Regions from separate parts of the Homo sapiens genome. Here all the other regions are linked to region 1. The links are contacts of gene promoters, found by promoter capture Hi-C in blood cells and fetal thymus (Javierre and others, 2016). All regions are on one chromosome and are shown on one strand. Each heading gives the region's core, a stretch centred on a gene start or on the middle of the fragment in contact. The rest is flanking DNA. Distances are from core to core; before and after follow the strand shown. Region 1 holds the start of KCTD21 (potassium channel tetramerization domain containing 21). Region 2 overlaps GAB2 (GRB2 associated binding protein 2). Region 3 holds the start of KCTD14 (potassium channel tetramerization domain containing 14). Region 4 holds the start of LINC02728 (long intergenic non-protein coding RNA 2728). Region 5 overlaps INTS4 (integrator complex subunit 4). Region 6 overlaps GAB2 (GRB2 associated binding protein 2). Region 7 overlaps GAB2 (GRB2 associated binding protein 2).

What was found. Contacts are between HindIII fragments. The CHiCAGO score rates a contact against its expected background, and 5 or more counts as called.
Region 2: a contact is called between a fragment that was not itself captured here and the fragment with the promoter of KCTD21 in region 1, in 4 of 17 cell types (neutrophils, fetal thymus, non-activated CD4 T cells and 1 more). The highest score is 8.4, in neutrophils.
Region 3: the fragment with the promoter of KCTD14 here is called in contact with the fragment with the promoter of KCTD21 in region 1 in 2 of 17 cell types (M0 macrophages and endothelial precursors); the score reaches 6.1 in M0 macrophages.
Region 4: a contact is called between a fragment that was not itself captured here and the fragment with the promoter of KCTD21 in region 1, in 17 of 17 cell types (fetal thymus, activated CD4 T cells, naive CD4 T cells and 14 more). The highest score is 20.5, in fetal thymus.
Region 5: a contact is called between a fragment that was not itself captured here and the fragment with the promoter of KCTD21 in region 1, in 9 of 17 cell types (naive CD4 T cells, activated CD4 T cells, total B cells and 6 more). The highest score is 7.3, in naive CD4 T cells.
Region 6: a contact is called between a fragment that was not itself captured here and the fragment with the promoter of KCTD21 in region 1, in 10 of 17 cell types (activated CD4 T cells, neutrophils, naive B cells and 7 more). The highest score is 10.0, in activated CD4 T cells.
Region 7: a fragment that was not itself captured here is called in contact with the fragment with the promoter of KCTD21 in region 1 in 13 of 17 cell types (neutrophils, naive CD4 T cells, activated CD4 T cells and 10 more); the score reaches 14.3 in neutrophils.

The regions. Positions count from the first base shown.
Region 1 is chr11:78,186,669-78,190,365 of GRCh38, forward strand. It overlaps KCTD21 (potassium channel tetramerization domain containing 21), which reads right to left and starts at 1,958. Exons shown (of 2, transcript NM_001029859.3): 1 at 1,905-1,958. It overlaps USP35 (ubiquitin specific peptidase 35), which reads left to right and starts at 2,251. Exons shown (of 11, transcript NM_020798.4): 1 at 2,251-2,489. RefSeq lists silencers at 1,675-2,014, 2,445-2,604. The HindIII fragment of the contact is 4,363 bases long and covers 1-2,987 here.
Region 2 is chr11:78,359,561-78,363,532 of GRCh38, forward strand. The region is part of intron 1 of GAB2 (GRB2 associated binding protein 2); the gene reads right to left. Among named protein-coding and RNA genes, the nearest start is that of GAB2, 56 kb to the right of the region's middle. The HindIII fragment of the contact is 6,004 bases long and covers 1-3,972 here.
Region 3 is chr11:78,020,983-78,024,945 of GRCh38, forward strand. It overlaps KCTD14 (potassium channel tetramerization domain containing 14), which reads right to left and starts at 2,294. Exons shown (of 2, transcript NM_023930.4): 1 at 2,178-2,294. The coding sequence starts at 2,267. The region is part of intron 2 of NDUFC2-KCTD14 (NDUFC2-KCTD14 readthrough); the gene reads right to left. It overlaps LOC124902723 (a long non-coding RNA gene), which reads left to right and starts at 1,561. Exons shown (of 2, transcript XR_007062795.1): 1 at 1,561-2,039; 2 at 2,552-2,740. RefSeq lists enhancers at 1,083-1,650, 1,651-2,220, 2,221-2,788. The HindIII fragment of the contact is 5,224 bases long and covers 411-3,963 here.
Region 4 is chr11:78,427,762-78,431,804 of GRCh38, forward strand. It overlaps LINC02728 (long intergenic non-protein coding RNA 2728), which reads right to left and starts at 2,075. Exons shown (of 4, transcript NR_120564.1): 1 at 1,939-2,075. The HindIII fragment of the contact is 498 bases long and covers 1,675-2,172 here.
Region 5 is chr11:77,986,426-77,990,095 of GRCh38, forward strand. All of the region lies in intron 2 of INTS4 (integrator complex subunit 4), which reads right to left. Among named protein-coding and RNA genes, the nearest start is that of INTS4, 6.4 kb to the right of the region's middle. The HindIII fragment of the contact is 1,128 bases long and covers 903-2,030 here.
Region 6 is chr11:78,377,107-78,381,160 of GRCh38, forward strand. The region is part of intron 1 of GAB2 (GRB2 associated binding protein 2); the gene reads right to left. Among named protein-coding and RNA genes, the nearest start is that of GAB2, 39 kb to the right of the region's middle. The HindIII fragment of the contact is 510 bases long and covers 1,849-2,358 here.
Region 7 is chr11:78,408,077-78,412,059 of GRCh38, forward strand. All of the region lies in intron 1 of GAB2 (GRB2 associated binding protein 2), which reads right to left. Among named protein-coding and RNA genes, the nearest start is that of GAB2, 7.8 kb to the right of the region's middle. The HindIII fragment of the contact is 9,698 bases long and covers 1-3,983 here.

The DNA.
Region 1 (3,697 bases), core at 708-3,207:
TTATATACCTACTTTACAGACCAACCATACTGGGCCCTCTTCGACTTCTGCAATTTGGCATCTGCCATCCCCTCTGCCTGGACCTTGAAGACAAATCCCATGCATCGGCCAGGTCTCTCAGCTGGAATTCATTCCTTCTCCTCTGCATCTGCGGAGAATTTTAGTCTAACCCCTTACCACAGCCAACTTTACTTAAGTAGATGGATGCCTGGCTCCCTTGCTGGGGCTGGGGGTGCCCCTTTCTATATCCACAGAAGCACGTAGAATAGGGGAAGAGGAAGAAATTTCTCTCCTGTTTAGTCAGATCCATTTTCCCCACCTGGATTTTCAAAACTTTTTAATTTTGAAATGCTCTGTTCAATTTTCAATCTGGAATCTAAAGGGATGTGACAAGGCCGAGGTGATTACTTGGGAGTAAATGCAAGGAGAGTTTCCACTGCGTAAGGGAATGGACAGCACGTGGCTGGGTAAATTTCAAAAAAGACAATGCTCAGAGTGAGTACTGTGTTTTCCAGTAAGTGGGAGACTTCCCCACCTTACCCCACCGGAGAAAGGACTCTTTGCCTTGAAGCCCCTAGGACGACTACCCTTTCTTCACCTCCTCTTCCTGACCACCCCACATCAAAGAGCTGCGTCTATAATTCTGTCTTGCCCAGTCCATATCTCTAAGAAATCCGAAGGCTGCTCTATTACCATCACAACCCATAGGGAGGAGAGAAAAGGTGCTTCCTAGACACAGGGACCCCAGAATGAGCTGCGCAAAAGGCAGGAGGAGAGAAAGGTGGGCTGGAAGAAGGAGACCACGGAATCTGGCACGGCAAGGTATTCTTTCATCTGGCGTAGACCTCCAACAACCACTACCATCCCCCAGCCCCTTCCAGAACTTTCCTTCACCTTCTCGGCTCACTCTCACGCTTCACCTTGTGCTTTTCCTCCGGCACCAGCACCCCATTTCAAACCGCTCTCTTCCTATGTCTCCTCCAAACAGTAATTTATAAACACCGTGCTTTCAAATCCATCTCATTTCATCCTCACAGTACTATAGGAGGGCTGCCTTACAGGCTGTCATTCGGAAGGGTTGGGGGGACTGGTCCTGCCAGACAATTTGCGAAGGTCGGGGCATCAAAACTTTTCTTTCCTGCCTCCCACGCCAAGCTAAACCTCTGCCTCCCCGAGTGCAGGGAGAAAAGCAAGGTCTTTGAAGTAAGGAGTCCTGAGTGGTTTTAGGCAAGTCCCTTCGCTTTTCTGAGCCTCACATTCCTCACCTGTCAACCGCTATAGTGACGCCTCTACTTTTCAGGGCGTGGGAGGTCAATGAGATCACTGGTGTGCCGCACTGAACTCGGGGATGGACTCTTTATTTCCAGTCAGTAAAGGGAGGTGTTCTATGCATCACAGGCTTTTGCCCACGCCGCCACAGCGCGGCCGGCCCAGGGCTCTCCAGAGCGGGGCAAGTTCCCTGTCATCTGTGTCTCCGCCCTTCCTTCCCCAATCTCACCCAGGCTGGCCTCATCGGCTTGTTCCGCACCCACTCCCCAGCCCTACAGCCCCCACTCCGACCTGACAAGTGCCCCACCCCCACCTAGAGATCCCGCCTCTCCTTGCCCCACCCACCAAGGACTCCTCCCACAGTCCCGACCCTCATTATCCGGGCTTTTCCGACTATCACCATCCGCCCTTGCTCTCCCAACAGCCCCGCCCCTCTAAGAGCTCTGCCCACTTCGGCTCACCTCGCTCCGAAACGCGCCCCCTCCCCCGCACCACAGGCGATGCCATCCCCATTTCACAGATGGGAATGGCGAGGCTGGGATAGATTAGTCTCATGGTAAGACAGGTGCTCAGTGGGCCCACGTACCCTCGCCGGTAGTCCCCGAGCCCCGCGACCCCGGCCGTGCCGCACCCACCTCCTGCCCTCGCTCTGCAGCCTCTCCCTCCGCGAGCGGCCAGCGCAGCTTTGCGAGGGGGGCGGAGGGTAGGAGCCCAGCCCAGGGGCGTGGCGGTCCGGGGTCTGTGCGCTGCCTTCCGGGACTGGTAGTTCTCTCTGGGCTCCTCGCAGCTCGGCGCGTCGAGAGCGAACTCCATCTCCCAGGAGGCATTGCAGCGAGTTGCTCTGCGCCCCGCCTCGTCCCCGCCGGTGTCCGGCCGGCTGGCCTTAAAGGGGACGCGGTCAGAGTGGCAGCTCGCGGGGTGGCCCCCGCTCCGGCTCCGCCCCATTTCACGCACCTCGCCCCTCCCCATGCTTCATCCCGCAGCCCCGGGGCCGCGCCGCAGAGTCGGGCTTCCTGGATACATAGAGGCTTGTGCCAGGCGGGGTGGGAAGACTGGATTTTGCAGTGGAAGCAGCATCTCTTCCGTCTGGGACCTGGCTGAGGGCGTCCCCACCCTGGGGGGAGCAGAGGACCAGCCCTGACCTAGCCGGGCCCAGCCTCGTCCTGCCCGGCCTGAGCGCCCCGCCCAGCAGCCGGCTCTGGCCCACCGGGGTCCGGGAGGTAAGGGGGTTGGGGGCGTGTGACTGTCTTTGGGGGGCGGTGTCTGCACCCTGGCCTTTCGAGAACCCTGGACTTGCGAGCCCAGGGCTGGGAGTCGGGAGATCTGGGTGCATCCTGGGCCTCCTGGGCCTCACTGTGTGACCTTGGGCGAGTAGCTATTCCTCTCTGGGCATTAATCCCCTCCCTTCATCAATTGTATGTCGAAGTGATCCTGCTCCCTCCCCTTTCAGGTAAGAGGGCATTCGCACCCAGTACCTAGTACATTCGCTTGCTGGCTTTTCGTGGGGCCCTCCAGCTCAAGCGTGGGCTGGGCGCGGGTGCACTGGAGGGAGGGAGGTGGCACAAACTGGGGGGCCCGAGGCCACCATTGCTTGGAATGGGCTTTTCCTATTCTCAGTGTGCTGGGCCCTGGGATACCCTCCCCAACCCCCTCTTACGGCCCTGGCCCTTGCAAACCGGAGACCCTGATGTGTCAGCTTGGTGCCCTTCCTTCCAGAAAGCTTGGGGTGGAGTGCGGCCCTCACAGGTTTGTGAGGGGTGGCCCCGCAGGGATAGGTGTGTGTGGTGGGTTCCTGAGGAGGAATAGCTGCTCCTGCTTTCTTCCCTTCTCTCTCCTCCTTATCCTTTGAGGAAGAGCAGCTGCTTTTTACCAGTGAAACCCTTTTTTCTTTTTCTTTCCAGGAGACAGTTTGGTGGCCCAGACATGGGCCTCCCGGAGTAGGGTGAAGCACTTCTTCCCAGGGTTGCCTTGGGTAGAAGTTCAGTTAAAAAATACCTAGAGAGATGCTGCCATTCAGACACCTGAGGGGCCAGAGATGGAGGGCACCACCTGGTGTCGGGAGGGGCAGCCTGGTACCCCCAAGGAAGCTCTGGCTCCCAGGGGAGTCAAAGGAGGGAGGCTGGCTTCGAGGGTCAGAGAGGGGAGGAAATGTGCTCCTCAGCTCTTAGGTGCTGAGCAGAGGCTGGGAGGGGCTGCTCTGACCTGGAGCAGGGAGAGGTTGAGTAACACCATGAAGCCTTCTTCTCAGGTCCTAGGAGATTCTGTGAGCTTTTGACCTGAAGGCTAACCAGGAACAGATTTTTGTTTTGTTTTGTTTTGTTTTTGTTTTGTGCTTTTTCTTTTGCTTTGGTTGTTTGAACAATTTCTAGAATGGCTAAAGCCTCAGTCCAGTCCAGTGACCTCTGTAGGGGCTTTCTTGACTGATGTT
Region 2 (3,972 bases), core at 1,059-3,558, 170 kb after region 1:
TAAAGGATATACTTTAGGAAGAAAAATAATCCCAGATGGAAGGTCTGACATAAAAGAAAACAAAGACGAGCACAGATATTGATAAATACATGGGAAATCTGAACACTTCCAGTGTAAAACAAGAATATTATTTTAAGTGGGTATAAATAAATAAGATAGAAAATACCGGCCAACAATAACATAAGTTAGGAGGAGTGATTCAAGTTTAGGTATGCTAAGATTCTTACATGATTTGGAAGAAGGGTGTAGTGCGTTGAATGGTCCCTTCCCAAAAGATATGCCCATGTCCTAATCCCTGGAACCTGTGAATATTACCTTATATGACATAAAATGTGATTAAGTTAAAGGTCTCAGACCCTTAGGCCATATAAGATAATATTCATAGGCAGCACTTCTCTTGGAGAATTCAGGGAAACTCTAAATGTAATCATATGTATCCATATAAGACAGAGATAGAGGAAGAACAGACAGAGGGACAGAAGAGAGAGGAGGAAGAGACAGTGTGACCATGGGCAGAGATTGGAGTGATGCAACCATGAACCAAGGAACATCTGGAGCCACCGGAAGCCAAAAGAGGCAAAAGATTTTCCCCAGTGCTTTCAGAAGGAACACAGCGCTGTAACACCTGGATTTATTCTCTCCTGAACTGTAAGACGATAAATCTCTATTGTCTTAAGCCAACAAATTTGTAGTCATTTGTTACAGCAACTACAAGAAACTACTAAGGGCCTGGCATGATAGCTCAAGCCTGTGATCCTAGCATTTTGGGAGGCCAAAGCTGGCACAGTACTTGAGACCAGCCTGGACAATATGACGAAGCCCTGTTTCTGTATTTAAAAAAAAAAAAAAGAAGAAGAGGAGGAGGAAAGAAAAAAGAAACTAATACAGAGAGTAAATATACTGCTATACTTTAGGCCAAATTAAAAAATTAAAATGTATGTGCTGATAAAGAGCTCAAATCTCCCTAAATGAATTTATTAATTTAACATAAACTCAGTAAAAACACCATTTTTTTGGCCAGGTGTGGTGGCTCATGCCTGTAATCACAGCACTTTGGGAGGCTGAGGCAGGTGGATCGCCTGAGGTCAGGAGTTTGAGACCAGCCTGGCCAACATGGCGAAAACCTGTCTGTACTAAAAATACAAAAATTAGCTGGGGGTGGTAGCATGTCCCTGTTAATCCCAGCTACTCAGGAGGCTGAGGCTGGAGAATCGCTTGAACTTAGGAGGCGGCAGTTGCAGTGAGCCAAGATCTTGTCACTGCAGTCCAACCTGGGCAACAGAGCAAAACTTCGTCTCAAAGAAAAACAACAACAACAACAACAACAAAAAACCCACCATATTTGTTCTAAATAAGAGAATACAATTGTAAAGTTCATAAAGAAAAACAAGAATAGCAGAGGACACTATTACAACCATATGGTAAAACACACCTCATTAATCAAAACAAAGCGTATTGCTATATATATTTTATAAGTATACAGACTAATGGAATTTAATACTTAGTGAGTTCACAAATGGTTACTAATGCATAAAATGCTTAGATTATGATAGAAGTAGCACCTCAAATCCATGGGAAAGATTTAATGACACTGTTAAAAATAAAGCTGAAACAAAGTTGAACCTGTACCTCTAAGCATAGATCAGGAAAAATTCCAACTGGATCAGATTTAAATGTAATATAAAATGAAATTATAAAACATAGTACATTTCTTTTATAGCCTATAAGAGGGAAAGTCTATTACCTAAAATCCAGAAACCATAACAATGATTGTTATAGTGACTACACAGAAACCTATAAATCTAAAAATGAAAACTATTTTCAAATCCTGCATGGCAACACGGACACACCCCCCCACACCCACACAAATGCCTATGGACAAAGCAAGGAAAAAAATGGTAACTTGGGTTAGAAGTCATAAATATTTCGCTAAAATTCACAATTCCTATTACAAAGGGCTAATCTCCTACATAAAGAGCTCCTACAAATCAGTAAGAACATTAACCCTGCAGAAAAATAAGCAAATGTTCACAGACAAATAACTATAAATGATTTTTAAACATGTGAAAAGATCAATGTTGACTTACAAAAGGAATACAAATTAAAAATACACTTAAATATTACTTTTCTCTCATTAGACTGGCAAACATACAGAACTTTGGTAATCATCTTGGCAAGACTGTGGAAAAAGAGGCAGGAGTGTAAATAGTTACAAACCCTCTGGAGAGCAATGTGGCAAAATTACATATAATCTACCAAAAGTGTAAGAGTATATATCCTTTAACCAGGCAATGCCAGAAACTTATCCTAGAGATAAACTAACATGTGCACAATGACATATGTGCATTTTGGGATCTATTTAAAAGAGTAATATTGAAAACAATGTAAATGCTCATCAGTAAAGACTTAGTTATGCCTTCACCAATTGATGTACTACCACTCAGCTGCTTTTTAAAAAGGCATGGGGAAGAAAACTGTTCATGTATCAATATGGAAAGAGCATCAAGATATATTATGAAGTAAAAAAAAAAAAAGCAAGTATAGAGAAAGTTGTCCTTTATTTGTATAAATGGAGGAGTTAATACGTATTTGTATGCGTATTTATAATCTCTATTAGATATATTCTAACATATCTAATATGTTAACAGGCCAACATACATTATAAAGATAAATACACCAGGTTATTAGAAATGAGCAGATGGTGGCAGAAGGATAGAGAAGAGACTTCTCACAGTATACTTTTCAAATATTTTGTGTTTAAGCCATGTGCATGTATTATCTATTAAATTTAAACATTTTAATAAGTATGCATAATAAAATACCTAGAGTAACTTCTAATGAAGTAGTTAGAGTGTAACTTCCAAATAAGCAGAGGGATAAAAAGGAAATTAGAAAAAGGAAACAAAATGTTCAATCCAAAAGGTAAGATTAAAAAAAACAACAGAAAATTTCAGTGTAAGGTAAGGTACAACACTACACGGTTGCAACAAATCAAAACATTTCCATAATCACAATAAATGTAAATCAATTTAATTCACCATTTAAAAGATAAAGCCTGTCTCACTGTATTAACCACAATAAATGTGAATTAACTAAATTCTCAAGTTAAAAGAAAGACTTTCCAGACTAAACAAAAACATAATCTAGCTACATACTGTTTTTTAAAGATACACCTAAAATACAAGAGCACAGGTAGGTTGAAATCAAAGGATGGAAAAAATTACATAAAGCATATACATTACTCAAAAGAATGCTGCTGCAGGTATATGACTACCAAGCAAAAAAAGATATTAAGGTAAAAAGGCAAAGAGGGTCAGGCACTTCACAAAGATAAGAGGTTCAAAGGCCCAGAAGTCATGTACTTCTAAAAAGTATGTGTACCTAGTAATATGGCCTCGAAATATATAAAGCAAGAATTGCCATTACTATAAGTAGAAAGTGACAAGTCCATTACATAATGGGAGATTTTTAAACAACCTCCCAGTAACTAATATAAAAAAGATGAGGCTCCTTTTGCCAACTCAAGTTAACCTTCCTTGGAACTAGATCACCATATCAGATACACAATTTCTTACTTAATTCCTAAGAAAATTAATCAGAACGGAAAGACATTCTTCCTGTCTGGTTCTGGTGACCAGTATTCAAACACAGAAATGAGAAGTTACACATGAGCTGCATAAGCAACCACATAGCTAGAGACTAACACTAATGGCTTTGTCAGCAATTCTGTGTGCTTATGCTTCAATTAATCTCTAAATTCCTCAAGGGAAGATGTTGGTCTCTTACACACATTTGTATCACTTCCCATACCTACCACACTGCCTGGTATATAGTAGGTGCTCAATAAATGTTTTATGAGTCATCTACTAAAATACTCCTCTTAAAAATATGTATTCTCTCCAACATCTATGAAGCACCTATTACATACCAGGTACTGTGTTAAGTACTGAGAATACACAGATGAATAAAAAT
Region 3 (3,963 bases), core at 1,044-3,543, 170 kb before region 1:
CCTTTCTGAAGCTAATTTCCAGATGCTTCAAAAAAACAGGCTGGGTGCAGTGGCTTACGCCTGTAATCCCAGCACTTTGGGAGGCCAAGGTGGGAGGATCACTTGAGGCCAGGAGTTCAAGACTAGCCTGGACAACATGGCAAAACCCTATCTCTACTAAAAATACAAAAAATTAGCTGGGCCCTGGTGGTGCATGCCTGTAATCCCAGCTACTTGGGAGGCTGAGAATTGCTTGAACCCGGAAGGCAGAGGTTGCAGTGAGCCAAGATTGCACTACTGCACTCCAGCCTAGGTGACAGAGGGAGACCCTGTCTCAAAAAAAAAAAAAAAAAAAAAAAAAAAAAAAAGTTTCCTGCACTGACATCTTCAGCTCCATTTCTTTATCAAACAAGACCTCAGCCGTGTTCCTAAGCTTCTTTTTGTTTTTTGTTTTTGTTTGCTTGTTTTTTGTTTTGAGACAAGGTCTCACTCTGTTGCCCAGGCTGGAGTGCAGTGGTACAATCTCGGCTCACTGCAACCCCCACCTCTTAGGCTCAAGCGATTCTCCTGCCTCAGCCTCCAGAGTGGCTGGGACTACAGGTGTGTGCCACCATGTCCAGCTAATTTCTCTATTTTTTATACAGACAGGGTTTTGCCATGTTGGCCAGGCTGGCCTCGAACGCCTGAGGTAGGTGGTCCACCCACCTCTGCCTCCCAAAGTGCTGGAACTACAGGCATGAGCTACCACGCCTGGCTGAGAGTACGTTTTCTGAAGTACAAATCTGATCCTGTCACTCCCTGCATTAAACACTTGAGTAACTTTTCATTCCCTTCCAGATAAACAGCAGACTCCATAACAAGGTTTAGAGGCCCTTTGCAACTAGGCTGCTACTTCACCCCTCGCAATCAACTACCAGAACTGCCTGCTGCTCCCCACTCCTCCAATCCAGAGCTGGGCAAGCCCCCTCACCTCCAGAAGCTCACTCACTTGGCCATCCGCACTCCTTTCTCTGACCCCACTCATCCTTCAGATGAATTCCTCTGGGAGTCCTTCGGGGTGGGTTGTCTCACTGTGATCCCAGAAAGTCCTACACTACTATACTTCCACTGGCCTGGCAGTTCTTCCCTTGCAATTCCCTGTTTCTTCATTGACTGTGAGGTTCCTGGCCAAGTGCTGTGTTTCATGCCTGTAATCCCAGCACTTTGGGAGGCTGAGGTAGGAGGATTGCCTGAGCCTAAGAGTTTGAGACCAGCCTGGGTCTCACCAACATGGCGAGACCCCATCTCTATTTTAACAAACAAACAAACAAACAAAAACTCTGTGAGGCTCCTAAGGGAGGGGAATATCCTCTGATTTACAGGAGCATCTAGTATTCTGTTCAAGGCCAATCTTGCCCTACCTGGCATCATGCACAGTGCCTTACACTTCCCCAGTAATTCATTCAGGCATTTATGGAACACCTAGGGTGGTCCTGGCACTAGGCATGTGGCTTTGTCAATAGCCAACAACAATGACGTGATCATGGCCCTATTAGAGAGAGCCACGCTGCCCTGCTGCTGGATCTGCTTTCTCTTCCTCCAGGTCTTCAGGATGACTCTCAGTGCAGGAGAGAACCCGAATGTTCTGCTCCCAGAGTGCACGCAGCCTTTTCCCCATCCTCCTCCCCAACTCCCCTCACCCAAGCTGGGGACCAGGCAGGCAAGCAGAGGGATTTGGGACCCAGCCAGAGGGCAGGGGCAGGCTGAAGACCCAGCCAAGGGGCAGGGGCAGGCTGGAGAGGGCTGCAGGTGAGGGAAAGATCCTCTGGCCGAGCTGGTTGGATGGGCTTCTCCCACCGGGAGCAAGGGAGAAGGTGGGGCAGAGGAGGAGTCGTGGGCTAGGACAAGCCGGTGGGGAAGAGACAAGGGAAAGGAACTAAAGACCCAATGTAGAGGGAGGAAGCAAAAGGGCAAAGAGGAAAGGCTGGACAGAGCCAAACCAGAAAGGGACACCGAGGCGCGAAAGGAGAGTGATCCCAGCAGGAGGGACGGCAAAGATTGAAGAGAGCGACCAGCCCGAGGTGAAGGGGGACAGCGCGCCAGAAGCAGGGGGCTCGGGCGTCTGGGAGGGACGGGCAGGAGAAACTGGAAGGGAGGGAAGAGGCGGAGGGAAGAGGCGGAGGACAGAGGCGCGGGGACGCAGCTAGCCTCGCACTTACCGTTGGCCGCCTGGGCCGGGGGGACTGGGGCAGAGGGGTCTGGCTCGTCATCCTGCCCACTGGCCGCTCCACTGCGCAGCCCTGCCACATGCAGATCACTTGGGCCAGCGGAAGTGCCCCTGGCTGCCCGCCCCTAGGTGGGAACACCGAGGCTCAAGGCGGGACGGGGCTGAGCCAGGCGTGGCTTGCAGTGAGACTGGGCCAAGTGCAGAAAGAAATGGACAGTCTGTCTATTTGGGGCTTCTAAAAGTTGTTAGGCCCTGAGAAGGGCTGACTTTGGAGACCGAGAAATGGAGCAGACCCCTTAAGGACTGACCTTTTGATATAGATTAATTTCCTTCCTTTTCTTTCTTTCTTTCTTTTTTTTTTTTCAGAGACAGGGTCTCACTCTATCGCTCAGGCTGAAGTGCAGTGGCGGATCAGGCTCACTGCAACCTCAACCTCCTGGGCTCAAGTGATCCTCCCACCTCAGCCTCCCAAAGTGGTGGGATTACAGGCCTGAGCCACGGCAACTTGCCTCTTCCTATATTTTCTTTTACGCTTAAATAAATTACTTAAACATATTGCTTGAATCCCGTTATTAAAGTTGACATTAGTTAATGCCCCTCTCTGGGCCTCGGAGTTCCCAGTAGTGAAATGGGGGAGGCAGAAGGAATTGACATTGACTGACATTGACAACCAGAGACTTTCTATTCCCTACAGTCCTAGGGAGTGAAAGATCCGCAACACCCATTTTACAGATCAGAAAACTGGCGCTCTAGGAGGTAGGGTGGTGTTAAAATGTAAAGTCTGAGGATCAACAAAACTTTTTTAAGAGTATACTTGAGTAACAGGCAATTCTTGAATCGGGGAACACCAGATGGAAAGAGGTTGAGTGTTCCCATGACAATGCATCAGAGGCAAATATTTATGGGGAGAATATGGAAGCAAGATATTTTGTTGGGGACAGGCATGGTGGCTCACGCCTGTAATCCTAGCACTTTGGGAGGCCAAAGCGGACAGATCATTTGAGGTCAGAAGTTCGAGACCAGCCTGACCAAAATGGTGAAACCCCGTCTCTACTGAAAATACAAAAATTAGCTGGGTGTGATGGCATGTGCCTGTAATCCCAGATACTGTGGACGCTGAGGCAGGAGAATCGCTGGAACCCGGGAGGCAGAGATTGTAGTGAGCTAAGATTGCACCACTGAACTCCAGCCTGGGCAACAAAGATTCCCTCTCAAAAAAAAAAAAAAAAAATATATATATATATACACACACACACACACACACACACACACACACACATATATATATATATACATATATATATATAAAATTGGTTACAGTTAAAAAATCTCCTTTTTTGGTTTCCTTTGTTGAAAAGTCCACAGCTACTTAATTGTATGTTAGTTGGCTGCTTGTGGTTGGCTAATGTTAAGTTTCGTTTCTGTCTAACATTAGCATTTACCAGAAATGACTCTATTAGTCAGGGTTCTACAGAGGGACAGAACTAACGGAATAGGGTTGGACACGGTTGCTCACGCCTGTAATCTCAGCACTTTGGGAGGCCATGGCAGGTGGATCACCTGAGGTTAGGAGTTCGAGACCAGCCTGACTAACATGGCGAAACCCCATCTCTACAAAATACAAAAAATTAGCTGGGCGTGGTGGTGGGCACCTGTAATCCCAGCTACTTGGGAGGCTGAGGCAGAAGAATCGCTTGAACCTAGGAGACGGAGGTTGCAGTGAGCTGAGATCAAGCCATTGCACTCCAGCCTGGGCAACAAGAGTGTAATCCCATCTC
Region 4 (4,043 bases), core at 674-3,173, 240 kb after region 1:
TCCCTGCTGTCGCGGACCTCACATTCTGGCAGAGGAGACGAATGGCAGCATAAGACAACCGGTATTTGCATAAGGCGCTGAAGGAGCATAACGAAAGGAGAAAGTCTGGAAGCCATTGTCCAACCCTTGGTTTCCTGAAGTAAAAATGATTTCAACACTAACACGTGAAAATGCGGAAATCCTAGCTGCATTTTGGAGTGTCACCACTCTTGAAATAAAGCCTCATAGGTTCAGAAAATGTGATCAGAGCTGTTAATATTTTGATTCTGGGTGACTAAGAAGTGACAGGTGTGTAGCCTGAGAAAGCCACCCAAGCCCATTTACAGGCATGTGGAGACAAGCAATGTTGAGTCAGGGTGCAGGGTACACCCCAGCTCTATCGGCAGGACAGGTACCTGAGCAGGGGACTTTTAAAATCTTCTGTTGAGAGCTACTAACCCATCAGAAGAAAATCAGTCAAGAACTAAATGACAGTGAAACTTGACACAAAAATTTCCATATCGGATTTTTAAAAAAATGATTGTTGATCTCAACAAACAGCCCACTCCTACTTTTTGAGAAGCATTAACCAGCACAAGTTTGTACTTAGTAAACTAGATGTAAGTTGTTTTCAATACAATTGACATATCTGGCTGGGGGGTGGGGTGGAGAAAGGAAGGGGAAGCACCTGGATGTTGATACAGTACTAGGCATAGAAGGAACCAGAGTGGGAGATTAACACTTGCATAGAAAGAAGAAAACATTAGGAGAAGTGGTGGGGAGAAATGGAGTGAGGAAAAGAGATAAAAGTTGAGAGGTGTGGTAGTTTCTACACTGCAAGGGTTCCAAGGGGTATCACTGCAGGCTGGCCTTCCCATCCTTGATAGAGACACATAAAAACCAGCTCAAGCATGCAGAGAAAACAGGTAACTTCTTCAATGAGCAGATTTGTATAATTATTACTTACCGTTTAGTGTAAAAATATTAAAATCTCACTGCAGGTTTCTCAGTACAGAATTAAAATACTTACACTAGAATTACTCAGGGTGACTGTTTAAAACAATGTAAATTGTGAGCTAGTTCCATCACAGACCTACTGAATCAGATCTTCTGGTGGGAGTAAGATAATGTGAATTTTTAATACGCTCCGCAGTGATTCACATACACAGTAAACTTTGACAAGACTGTACAGAATGGGAGTCTCTGAGAGCAGGGAGTATGTCCTATTTGTCTCAGCACTCATAGAATCTAGCACGGGGATTGGGAGAGTGAGAGCTCAATAAAAGTTTATTGAACTAAACTGAATACACCTAATATACCTAAGAGTCTTTAAAGCAAAAGTCACTCAATTCCACTACCCTGTAATCCATTTTTTCCATATTCTAGTCTATGTACACAGGTTTTACACTGTTGTAATTGCAAACTCACCATTTTAGATTGTATTTTTCAATATATTTTCTCTTACAATTTTTAATGGCTGTAAAACATTCCACCCAACATGAATAAGTATCTCTGTTCATATAGATTTTGAGTTTTGAAAAGGTTTTCCTTAGGGGACCTTACATTTGTGCAGTGCTTGTCAGTTTATGAAACCCTTTCACACAATCTTCATTGCTTTCACAACACTCTGTAAGATAAGCATTATCCTCATTTTGCAGCTGGGTATACAGACTCAAAGATTAATTAACTTGCTCAAGCTTCTACACCTAGTAAGTGGAATGTCAGATTAAACCAGGATCTTCTCACTATGCATTTAATGCCCTTTCCAAGGCACCAAATAATTGGACCCAACAGTTTCCTGATGCAAAAACCTGTAATTTAAAATGTGGCAGATGGAAATTACATTTAAAGAGAACATTGGTCAGCTATATCCTAACTATATAGGAATCAGCTCCTGCCTCTTGGGGTATGGCAAAGAAAATGCATATATTAGTTGACAACTTCTGTGTAAGAACTTACTGTTCTTCAGCAATGCCTCATAACGCTGTCTGTATACGATCCAAGCCCATTTCTGCAATCCTCACATGAAGGGAGTTGGGACTGTCCCTGAACACTCTGACACTGTAATTAAAGTTCTTCGGCAACCACCACAGGCTGTAAGGCAGATAGGAAGGAGGCAGTGGAGACTTGAAAGCTCTTCTAAGATTGGTATCACAGGAAACTTGGGTAGCAGCTGAGTGAACAGGAGAGGGAAGCTTTTATGTACCAATAGAAATGCCCATTATAAGGACACACGACCTGATGAATAACAGAGGGGTGCAGCACTTCAGGGAAGGACAGACAGTCCACCTGAGCAGTTAGAGGTTCTATACTGGAAAACAGGAGGAGTTGTGTTTCTATTTTATTCCATTTGCATGATACAGAGAGACAGGTTTCCTTATTCTCAGGTAGAAGTTTCTAACAACCAGAGCTCTCTGAGGAGAGAAAAACTTCTTGGCTGGGTGTGGTGGCTCAAACTTGTAATCCCAGCACTTTGGGAGGCTGAGGGAAGCGGACTACTTGAGCCCATGAGTTTAAGACCAGCCTGGGCAACAAAGTGAGACCCTGTCTCTATAAAAAATTAGCTAGATGTGGTGGCACATACCTGTGATCCCAGCTACATGGGAGGCTGAGGATTGCTTGGGCCCAGGAGGTCGAGGCTGCATTGAGCCATGTACACATCACTGCACTTAAGCCTGAGCGACAAAGCAAGACCGTTTCCAAAAAATAAGGCTAGGCACAGTGGCTCATGCCTGTAATCCCTGCCCTTTCAGAGGCCAAAGTGGGAGGACTGCTTGAGCCCAGGAGTTCAAGACCAGCCTGGGCAACATGGCAAAACCCTGTCTCTACAAAAAATACAAAAATTAGCTGGGTGTGGTGGCTTGTGCCTGTGGTCCCAGCTACGTGGGAGGCTGAGGCAGAAGGATCACTTGAGCCTGGGAGGCTGAGGCTGCAGTGAGCTGTGATCACGTCACTGCACTCTAGCCTGAGTGAGAGAGTAAGACCCTGTCTCTAAATAAATAAATAAATAAATAAATAAATAAAAGATCTCTATTAAGATAGTGAGTTCCTATTCAGTGAAGCTACAATAGGTAAATTACTAGGAATCAGGAGAAATACAGAGGGGAGTAGTTCATATATCATAAACGGGAAGAATTATCTTCTTTCCAAGATTTTTCAAAACTAGGTTCCTAGGAAAATGGCAAACCAGCAATTCTTATTGAGCTAGTGTGTAGAGAAAGTTATGAATCAAAGAATCACAGTTGTAGATGGCTCAGGTTCGGCAAAATACAGTTCCAGCTGTGTACATGGGCACCTGTTGCAGAAAAAAAACCTTTGTTACACAGGCTCACCATGTATCTATTTTCAGATTATTACCTTGAAAAATCAAAGGTCTGTGACTTCGAGGAAGATATTAATAATTCCTATCAAAGTTTCTTTCATGTATCTTTCTATCCACAATTCAAAGATGATCCTAAAAGGAAGGTGGCAAATGTGAGTATAAACTGATAACAAATTGAGGCACAATGAGCTTAAGTACATTGCTGGGTCTAGGATCCTTTACCCCATTTTTAGTGTTTCTCTTTACTCCAATGTATTTGAGATCAAACATCATCTTCCTTCACATTCTCCTGTCCCTTCACCCTGGGTAGAACAAGGTCAAGGTGAGTATTTTGCGACACATTCAGTAAACTCTGGGGCTTAAGATGCAAGATTCTTTGGTTATTAGGTTTTATGTTTTTTGGTTTCTCTGGAAGCTGAGGGCAGTGAATTTTATTTGCAGTCTTTCTCTCAGTATTAGGAACTTTCGATTTTTTTTTTTTTTTTTTTTGAGACAGAGTCTCGCTCTTTTGCCTAGGCTGGAGTGCAGTGGTGTGATCTCGGCTGACTGCAAGTTCCGCCTCCCGGGTTCATGCCATTCTCCTGCCTCAGCCTCCTGAGTAAGCTGGGACTACAGGCGCCTGCCACCACACCCGGCTAATTTTTTTTTTTTTTTTTTTTTTTTTTTTTTTGTAGAGACAGGGTTTCACCGTGTTAGCCAGGATGGTCTCAATCTCCTGACCTTGTGATCTGCCGGCCTTGGC
Region 5 (3,670 bases), core at 217-2,716, 200 kb before region 1:
CGGCAATTCCTCAAGGATCTAGAACTAGAAATACCATTTGACCCAGCAATCCCATTACTGGGTATATACCCAAAGGATTATAAATCATGCTACTATAAAGATACATGTGCACGTATGTTTATTGCGGCACTATTCACAAGAGCAAAGACTTGGAAGTAACCCAAATGTCCACCAACGATAGACTGGATTAAGAAAATGTGGCACATATACACCATGGAATACTATGCAGCCATAAAAAAGGATGCGTTCATGTCCTTCGCAGGGAAATGGATGAAGCTGAAAACCATCCTTCTCAGCAAACTATCACAAGGACAGAAAACCAAACACCGCATGTTCTCACTCATAGGTGGGAATTGAACAGTGAGAACACTTGGACACAGGGCGGGAAACATCACACACCGGGGCCTGTTGGGGAGTGGGGGGCTGGGGGAGGGATAGCATTAGGAGAAATACCTAAAGTAAATGATGAGTTAATGGGTGCAGCAAGCCAACATGGCACATGTATACACATGTAACAAACCTGCACGTTGTGCACATGTGCCCTAGAACCTAAAGTATAATAATAAAAAAAGAGTCTTCACCACTTAAAGATATAAATCAAAATTTATGATTAAAATAATATGATGCCAGGAATTTATTTTCATAAGAATCTGGTGGAGAAGGTGAGGGTAAAGAAGTAGAAGTGGATTGGGGAAGAGGGAAAATGAAACAAGTTTGGCCACAAAATGATAATTTTTGAAGCCAGGTAATGGGTACATGGGAATTAATTAAACTATTCTCTTTACTTACATAGTATATATCTGAAATGTTCCATAACAAAAGGTTTTTTAAAAAAAAAACCCAAGTTCAAATCCATACCTTCCATTTACTAGCTGGGTGACCTTGGATACTAAACAGCTCTAAGCTTAGTTCCATATCTGGAATTTAGAGATAACAATGGTGCTGTCACCAGGATTAAATAAAATATTACATATGGAAAGTGCTTTCAAACTCTAACAAGCAATATAATGTTAACTGCTCTAAGAAGTATTATTATAGATGATTATTGGTAACAGATCTTTAATATAATAATAATGGTAGATATTGCTAAGAAAAAGACTAACGGAAAATAGATCACTGAGAGATCGAAAACTTCTTGAGAACAGAAATCCTGATTTTGGTCAGATGTGGTAGCTCACGTCTGTAATCCCAATCCTTTGGGAGGGCCAAGCAGGAGGGTTGCTTGAGCTCAGGAATTCGCGACCAGCCTGGGCAACACAGAGAGACTCCATCTCTACAAAAAAAATTAAAAAGAAAAAATTAGCCGGGAGTGGTGGCATGTGCCTGTGGTCCCAGCTCCTCAGGAGGCTGAGGTGGGAGGATGGCTTGAGCCTGGGAGTCCAGACTTCAGTGGGCAGTGATCACGCCATTGCACTCTAGATTGGGCAACAGAGCAACACTCAAAAAGATGCCAGGCACAGTGGTTCATGCCTGTAATCCCAGCACTTTGGGAGGCTGAGGTAGGTGAATCGCTTGAGCCCAGGAGTTTGAGACCAACCTTGGTAACATGGTGAAACCTCATCTCTATCAAAAATATAAAAATTAGCCAGTCTCATAACCCAGTCTCTAGATAGATAGATACGATTTTTTAAAAAATTTTTTAAAGAAAAGAACAACAAAAAAAGAAAGCCTGATTTTATTCACGTAAAACATAAGTGAAACATTTATAATGTCCCTTCAATGTTCCTAGGAACCTGCCAGGCACTGGGATAGAGACTAATGGATCTGCAGCCTCTGAATTTACGGAGCTCAAAGTCTGAAGGAGATAGACACATATGGCAAACAATTGCAACGCATAAGACTTAACAATTGTGCTAATGGACACCGTCCAGTGCCCAGAACAAAGTCTGATATATATTTGTTGAGTAAAATGTATCACAAAAGCATCAATTAATTCATTTATTCATTCAACAAATATTTATTTTACCAGGCACTGTTCTTGATTCTGTAGAAACAACAATTAAAAAACATAAAAATCCCTGCTCAAGGGAAGCTTATGTTCCTGCATGGGGAAATGGACAAGGAACATAATTAACAAGAAATTATACAGAATATTAGAAGATGGTAATTACTATGGAGAAAACAAAATCAAGGAAGGGGACTAGGAAGTGCGGGGTGGGGATAGGCAGTTTCGATATGAAACAGAAGGGTAAAGGAAGACCTCAATGTAACGGTGACATTTGCATGCTGATAGCTGCAATATGAAGTACAAGTCACCATTTATAACATAGTCTTAAAATTGTCAAAAATATGCTTAACTTAAATCTAACAAAGCCTATAGATCTAACTTTCAGTTCATAGTAAATACAGAGAACAGAGGAACAAGTTAATCCTTAAAGAAGTAAATGAATTCAGAAAACAAGACATTTTACAAAAGAACTGTCTCAGTTTCTTCATCAAATCAATGTCACCAAAATAGTAACTGTTGTAGATTTTTGAAAAGACTGAATGCCATGTGGGGACCTGGTTTGCATTTTGATTTGAATACATCAACTATAAAAAGGTACTGGGAGAACAACTACAGAAATCTAAATATCAACTAATTCTTAGATGACATTAAAGAATTACTTAACTTTATTCATTAGGGTTAGGTGGCTATGTTAAAAAATAAAAAGTCCCTCTACTTTCTCATAGCAGTGAGAAAAAAAAAGAAAACAACAAAAAGGTATCCCTTTTTAATAGATATGTAATGAAATAATTAGAAAAAAATGACATATCTTTTTAAAAATTCAACAAAACAAGGCTGGGCGCGGTGGCTCACACCTGTAATCCCAGCACTTTGGGAGGCCGAGGCAGGTGGATCACCCGAGGTCTGGAATTCGAGACTAGCCTGGCCAACATGGTGAAACCCCATCTCTACTAAAAATACAGAATTAGCTGAGCGTGATGGCGCACTCCTGTAGTCCCAGCTACTTGGGAGGCTGAGGCAGGAGAACTGCTTGAACCCAGGAGTGCTATTACACTCCAGCCTGGGCAACAGAGTGAGACTCATCTCAAAAAAAATAATAACAAAATAAAATAAAATTCAGCGAAAAAATAGAGCAAATTTGGCAAAATACTAATAACTGTTAAATTCTAGGAATGGATATTTGGTAGGTCACTATAGTATTTTATCTACTTTTCCATAAGCTTAACAATTTGGGGGCTGAGTGTGGTGGTTCACACCTGTAATCTCAGCAATTTGGAAGCCCAAGGAGGGTGGATTGCTTGAGCCCAGGAATTCGAGATCAGCCTGTGCAACATAGCAAAGCCCTGTCTCTACAAAAAAAAAAAAAAAATACAAAAATTAGCCAGGCATGCTGCACATGCCTGTAGTCCCAGCTACTCAGAAGGCTGAGGCAGGAGGATCAATTGAGCCTCGGAGGTCGAGGGTACAGTGAGCCGTGATAGCACCACTGCACTCCCGCCTGGGCGAGAAAGCAAGACCCCATCTCAAAAATAATAATAGTAATAATAATAATGATTTTTGGGCTGGGAATGGTAGCTCACGCTTGCAATCCCAGCACTTTGGGAGGCCAGGGTGCATGGATCACTTGAGGTCAGGAGTACAAGACCAGCCTGGCCAACACAGCAAAACCCCACCTCTACTAAAAATACAAAAAAAATTAGCTGGGTGTGGTGTCACACACCT
Region 6 (4,054 bases), core at 854-3,353, 190 kb after region 1:
CATGCTTCTGGTAAAGCCTGCAGAACTGTAAACCAATTAAATCTATTTTCATTTTAAATTATCCAGTCTCAGGTATTTATTTCTAGCACTGCAAGAACAGCCTAATACACAGACATTTCTCACAGTTCTGGAGGCTGGGAAGTCCAGGATGAAGGAACTAGTAGGTCCAGTGTCTGGTGACGGCCCTTTTCCAGCTTTACAGAGGGCTGCCTTCTTGCTGTGTCCTCACATGGCAGAAAAAGGCGACTGGATGGAAGTTCTCTTGTGTGTGTTCACTTCTTATAAAGACACTAATCCCATCATGAGGGCTCTACTCTCATGACTCAATTTTCCCAAAGGCCCCATCTCCAAATTCTATCACACTGGGGATCAGAATTTCAATACATGGTTTTGGGGGGACACAAACATTGAGTCGGTAGCAGGGAGTACAGGGGACCGGCATGTTGACCAGGCAAGTTTAACTCACTTTATTTTGAAGAACGTGGTAGCAGCAGAAAAGCCTATTATGCTTTGGAGACAAGTGGACTCAGCTTTATATGGTCCTGGGCTAGTTTCTTAACTTGAGCTTGTTTCTGGCTGACATGAGAATATTATCTATCGCACAGTATTGTAGCAAAGATTAAATGAGATGCAATCGGCTCATACCTGCAAAGTTTACTTACTACGTAGTTAAGTACACAATAAAATTTACACTTCACTCTCTCTCCTACTTTCTTATTTTCCCTCCACCCTGCCAGAGATAAGGAGGATGAATCTGCTTCAGACAAAAAGCAAGTACTGAATAACTGGATACTTGTTTTACTATCCAGCACTGCTTCCCTTTCTCATGGAGGAAATTGCTTTCCACGAGATGCAAACATGATTCTGAGCGAAGCTGTCACTCATCCCTCTCCACACCTACCACGTGAGTGTCAGGTGAGGCACAGGTAGCTCTAGTCTGACTACCGTAGTTTCCAATTCCCTGGCCATAATGGCTCAGTCCAGGGGTAGAATTATGGCCCCAACTGTCAGTATCCTTCCCTAGGATTTTAAATTTGGAGTTCTAAAAGTAAGGACCTTGCCTTTTAGGTTACAGAGATGAGAGGACTGAGGGTTGCCAGTGATCTCCTTTCTTATCACCTATAGACAGCTTGCCTACAGGAAAAAAGAAAGCCAAACACAGACAAGCAGTATGAGATACAATGAGCGCCCTTGGGCCATTAAAATATGATTGTGTGCCCAAGGTCGCCTGGTATCTAGAAAATTTTCTTCCATTTTCTGAGCTTCCTTATTATCATACCATTACATTTCTATTTCTTGCTTAAATTTACCTGAGTTGGTTTTTGTCATTAGCAATTCCAAAAGTCCTTAAAACATGAATTTATATTTTATGTCAGACTTTTCTGCAAGGTGCTTTACAGTCAAGATCCCATTCAATTCTCATAGCAACCCTGATGTGAAGGCATTGGTTCTCTCTTTCTCCCTTCACCCTGACTGCATATCTGTGATGGTGTGAACTTCTTTGTAAGCCTAGGATCAGAGTACAGGATTCATAGTCACTTTTTTCTTTTTGTTCTTTTGTTTTGTTTCTTTGAAACAGGAGTCTTAATGCTCAGGCTTGTCTTGAACTCCTGGCCTCAAGCAATCCTCCTGCCTCCATCTCCCAAGTAGTTGGGATTATAACCACGAGCCACTGTGCCCCATAGACACTTCTTATATTTAACCAAATCATATGGCAGAATAGAGGCCTTATATCCACTTACCATACCAACTAGAATACACTCAGACTATACCTGCTTAGATCACATGCCCAATCCAAAATAATCATGGTGGCTGAGGGAATGCAATGTGCTAACTAGCCAAACCTGAAGCTTAGGATAGATGGAGCCAGCTTCCCCAGAATCACACAGATGTCTGAACACAAATTAAGGTGTTGCAAGGAAGGAGAAAGGAGATGAATTTAAGAGAAGCAATCAATAAGTGTTCGTTACATACAAGGAAAATTGGAATCAAGTTATTAAGATCATCCAGCTCTCTGAACCATCTGATCAGTAACTCCTCCTGTTCACATTACTTCCTGTTGTGACCTCACGCTTCTTCAGACTAATTTAAGACTGTGGTTCTCCAGAGGCTTCAGCTATTCTCCACAGAGAAGCTAGCTGATTTGTCATGACTTCTAATCACTCATCCTGAGTACCAAATTGAAATGCTGATTTGGCAAGATTATTAAAAGATCTCAAGGCACTTTCCAGAACATAAAAGACTTGGTTAAAAGTAAGTATCTCTTGAGTCAATTAAAATGTCCTTGGCTGTCTTTCTTGCCTTGGTTTCCTCCTTAGTAAGTGTAAATTCAAAATAACAGGGAAATAGATAAGGTAAAGCTTCTTTTTAGGAAAGGGTTTTCTCACACAGTTGACCGACAAGACAGATTTCCTACTGGCTGGACTGATAACAGTGAGCAAATGGGTCCTGATACCTTCACCATCCTATGATTTTCAACAAGCTACTATATTTCATTAATTCAAATTCAGTTCTATTTTAACATCAAAATCAGAATGTTTCCTACTGTTGAGAGTGTCTTACAGTTAAGCTGCAGTCAGGACACAGCTGTCATTGCCTGCACAAGAGTGTACTTGGTTGTCATGTCTGTCATTGTGACTGAACAAATACAACCCTGAACAAATAAATCAAGGGCCATTTTAAGGAGAAACATGAATTTCAGTAGTTGTGAGACTTTTTGCTAAGATCTTCTAGTAAGACCAAGAAAGTGCCAAAGTTGAAACTTGCAAAATACGTGTCAGTAACCTGAAAGAAAAATTTGAAGACAATGTTGAATCATTTTTAAGAAATGTTGCACCATCAATACTCTTGATGGCATGCAGGGCAGTTATTATGTAGGCAAATATGGACAATGAATTAAAAAGTGATTGAAAGCTAGAATTGATTATGAAGTAGTTTTAGAAATTTCTTTACCAATGTTTCATTTATACTTTTCTTTTTTGTGTATGCAAGAGAGTGCCGGACTATAAATCCATGTCCGCATAAGTCTACAAGCACTCTTTCAATAAGGTATTTATTCCCCTGCTTAGTGGAATATAAAATAATTGTGAATGACATTGAATGAGAACTTTTTTTTTTTTTGAGACGAAGTCTCGCTCTGTCGCCAGGCTGAAATGCAGTGGTGTGATCTCAGCTCACTGCAACCTCCGCCTCCCGGGTTCAAGTGATTCTGCCTCAGCCTCCCAAGTAGCTGGGACTACAGGTGCGTGCCACCATGCCCAGCTAATTTTTGTATTTTTAGTAGAGACAGGGGTTTCACCACGTTGGCCAGGATGGTCTCAATCTCTTGACCGCGTGATCCGCCTGCCTCGGCCTCCCAAAGTGCTGGGATTACAGGAATGAGAACATTTCTAAGGCCTCATTTGAAAATTGGGATGACAAAGACTCCCTAATAGCTGTAGAATAAAATGCAAATAAAACACAGCATTCAAAGGCCTCTATAACATTGCCTAAATCTACATTTTCCACTCTTGTCTCCTATCACACTTCCAAGTCCACTACACACTGTGAAATTAAATAATTCAAACTGAAAGCTATTGGAACTTTAAATTATTCGGAGCCTTGGGAGGAATGTGGCTATGCAGCCTGAGTCACATGTCATGCAGCTGCAACTTCTGCCCCCATTCCCCACCCCCAAACCCCCCACCCCGTAATTAAGACCAAATGGCGCCAGAGATAAGACCATCTCAGAACGTTGTCCCTCCTCATGGAGTAATCTTCCTTGGAATGTAGGAATCTGTAACCAGTCAAATCACTGTAACGTATGCACTGGTCTTGTATGGGAAATGTTGTAATCCTGTTAAAATTTCTGTGTCTCTGCCTATGTAAGTGAAACCTTATCTTCTCTACTTTGAAACTCTGACCCCATTCATTTGGAGTCAGTGTCTCCCAGGTGGCCATACTTAAGCTTTGTACTCAAATAGACTCTACTTAATCGTATTTTCTGAATCTCACTATTTAAGGTTGACAATACCAAATTATACACATTATTCCTTGAAGATCACCTGCTCCTTTT
Region 7 (3,983 bases), core at 1,199-3,698, 220 kb after region 1:
AAGAGGAACCTGAAAACATCAGCAAAGAAGAAAGCACATAGTAAACAAAAATGTAATTAAATAGTCTTTCCTTCTGAGTTTTCTAAATTAGGTTTAATGACTGAAGCAAAAATTATAGCACTGTCTGATATAAAAAAAATATTTAAGACAATTATATATGGAGGATGGCAAAAGGACATAAAGGGAGGTAAGGTTACTATACTTTACTTAAACTTGTAAAATGATGATACAGACTTCATTTAGATTATAAGACGACACCAACTGACTGTTGTATGTACAGTATAATACCTAGAGCAACCACTAAAAAAGCTGTATAGAGAGATACACTCAAAAACACTATATAGATAAATCAAAATGGAATTCTAAAAAATATTCAAGAAACTCACAGGAAGGCAAGAAGAAAACAAAAACAGAACACAAACAAAAAATAAAGTGGCAGAACTAAGCTCTAGCATATTAGAAATTATATTAAGTGTAAATTTAAATATACCAATTAAGACATAAATCAGCACAGTGGATTAAAAACATGCCCCATGATATGGTTTGGGTATGTGTCCCTGCCCAAATCTGAGGTCAAATTGTCATCCCCAAATATTGGAGGTGGGGCCTGATGGGAAATGATTGGATTATGGAGGTGGAGTTCCCCTTTGGTGCTGTTCTCATGATAGTGAGTGAGTTATTGTGAGATCTGGTTATTTAGAAGTGTGTAGTACCTCTCCCCTCACTCTCTTCCTCCTGCTCCAGCCATGTAAGATGTGCCTGCTTCTCCCTCACCTTCCGCCATGACTGTAAGTTTCCTGAGGCCTCCCCAGCCATGCTTCCTGTACAGCTTGTGGAACTGTGGGCCAATTAAACCTCTTTTCTTGATAAATTACCCAGTCTCAGGTAGTTCTTTACAGCAGTGCGAGAACGGATTAATACACCCCAACAATATGCCACCTATAAGATATCACTTCAAATACAATGATATGGGTAGGTTGAAAGTAAATTGATGGAAAAGATGTATCATGTGAATATCAATAAAAGGAAAGCAAGAATAACTATATCATCAGATATAGGCTATAATATATCAAGTAGCCCTCAGATACTTGTATAATATATCAGATAACAAGTAGACCTCAGAGCAAAAGAAATTACCAGAGACTCAGCAGGTATTATATAAAGATAAAAGGGTCATGCCACCAAGAAGATGTTGCAATTCTAAATGTGTATATATTGAACAACAGGGCTGGGTGCGGTGGCTCATGTCTGTAATCCCAGCACTTTGGGAGGCCGAGGCAGGCGGATGACCTGAGGTCAGGAGTTCGAGACCAGTCTGGCCAACATGGAGAAACCCTGTCTCTATTAAAAATACAAAATTAGCCGGGTGTGGTGGCGCATGCCTGTAATCCCAACTACTTGGGAGGCTGAGGCAGGAGAATTGCTTGCACCCAGGAGGTGGAGGTTGCGGAGAGCTGAGATCATGCTATTGCACCTCCAGCCTGGGCAACAACAGCGGAACTCCATCTCCAAAAAAATAATAAAAAAAATAAAATATGTGAAACAAAAACAGATATAAGTGAAATGAGAAACAGAAATATTCACAATTATAGTTGGAAACTTCAACCCCTGTCTCTCAACAATCGACAGAAGAACTAGATAGAAAAATCAGCAAGGATATAAAAGAATTATATATATCACTATCAATCAAAAAGATATAATTGACATTTATGGAATACTTTACCCAATAATAGCAGAATAAACATTCTTTTCAAAGTACCCATGGAACCTAAAGCAAGATAGACCACATTTTCAGCAATAAAATAAACCTTGACAAGTTAAAAATAATTGAAATCAAATAGAACTTACTCTACTCCCACAATGAATTCCAACTAAAAGACAGAAACAGAAAAATAATGGGAAAATCTCCAAACATTTGGAAACTAAACAATGTACTTGTAAATAATCCATGGTCAAAGAGGAAAGTCTCAAGGAAAGTAAAAAAAATATATATATACTGAGCAAATAAAAATTGAAAATGCAATTTATCAAAATTAGTGGGACACAGCTAAAGCAGTGCTGAGAGGGAAATTCATAGCAGTAAATGAATACATTAAATAAGAGGAAAAGTCTCAAATGAATAAACTACTATATAAAAAAATCAGAGGCCAGGTGCAGCGGCTCATGCCTGTAATTGCAGCACTTTGGGAGGCCAAAGCAGGCAGATCACTTAAGGTCAGGAGTTTGAGACCAGCCTGGCCAATATGGTGAAACCCTGTCTCTACTAAAAATACAAAAATCAGCTGGGCATTGTGGCACATGCCTGCAATCCCAGCTGCTCGGGAGGCTGAGGCAGGAGAACTGCTGGAACCTGGGAGGTGGAGGTTGTAGTGAGCTGAGATCGTGCCATTGCACTCCACCCCAGGTGACAGAGTGACATGCTGTCTCAAAAAACAAACAAAAAATAATAATGAAGCAATGTCAGTATGCAAGAATAAGGGTTAAAAAAATAAAGCAGTGGACCCACTACAGACCCTGCAGACACTGAAAGCATAATACAGGATACTGTAACTCCACTCACATGTATGTAACAACTTAGACAAAATGGACCAATTTGTTGAAAAATGTAAACTTCTATAATTCAGCCAATATGAAGTAGATAATTTGAAGAACCCCGTATCTATTAAAGAAATTGGATTAAAAATGTAAAAAATTCCTAACAAAGACATTTCCAGATCCAGATGGTTTAATCTGGAGAATTCTACCAAAGGTTTAAAGAATTATACCAGTTCTACACCATCTCTTCCAGAAGGCTAGACATGGTGGTTCACACCTATAATCGCAGCACTCTGGGAAGCCAAGGTGGGAGGACTGCTTAAGCTCCGGAGTGTGAGACCAGCCTGGGCAACGCAGGGAGACCCTGTCTCTACAAATAATAAAAAAAAAAATTAGCCAGGCACAGCAGTACGCAGCTGTCGTCCCAATTACTTGGGAGGCTGAGACAGTAGGATCACCTGAGCCCAGGAATTTGAGGCTGCAGTGAGCCATGATTGTGCCACTGTCGCCAGCCTGTGTGACACAGCAAGATTCTGGTGGGGGTGGTTGGGGGGGGGGATGGTGGAAGGAGAAGAAAATAAACGAAGGAAGAAAGACATATATAAATAAATGTAAAATAAATTCATGGACTGGAAGATTTAATATAGTAAAGCTGTAATTTCTTCCCAAATTGGTACACAGGATTAATGCACTTCCTATTAAAATCTCAGCAAGACTTTCTTTTTTTTGCATAAACAAGATTATTCTAAAATTTGTATTGAAAGGTAAAGATAATAGAATAGCTAAAACACTTTGAAAAATAAGAATAAAGTAGAGGAATCAGGCTACCAGATTTCAAGACTTACAATATAGCTAGAGTTGGCAAGATTCTATGGTATTTGCAGAGGGACAGACACATGGAAAAATGGACCAAAACAGAGACAACAGAAACAGACCCACACAAATACGTCCAACTGATTTTTGACAAAGACGGAAAAGCAATTCAATGGAAGTAGGATGGCTTTGTCAACAACAATGACAACAACAAAAGAACCTCAATCTAAGTCTCACATCTTACATGAAAATTAACTCACAGTGGATCACGGACTTAAAGGAAAAACATAAACCTGTAAAATGTGTAGAAAAAAAAAAACCAGGAAAGCCGGCGCAGTGGCTCACGCCTGTAATCCCAGCACTTTGGGAGGCCAAGGTGGGCGGATCACGAGGTCAAGAGATTGAGACCATCCTGGCCAACATGGTGAAACCCTGTCTCTACTAAAAATACAAAAATGAGCTGGGCATGGTGGCGCACACCTGTAGTCCCAGCTACTCAGGAGGCTGAGGCAGGAGAATCGCTTGAACCTGGGAGGCAGAGGTTGCAGTGAGCCAAGACTGTGCCACCGCACTCCAGCCTGGGTGACAGAGTGAGAATCTGTCTAAAAACAACAACAACAACAACAACAACAACA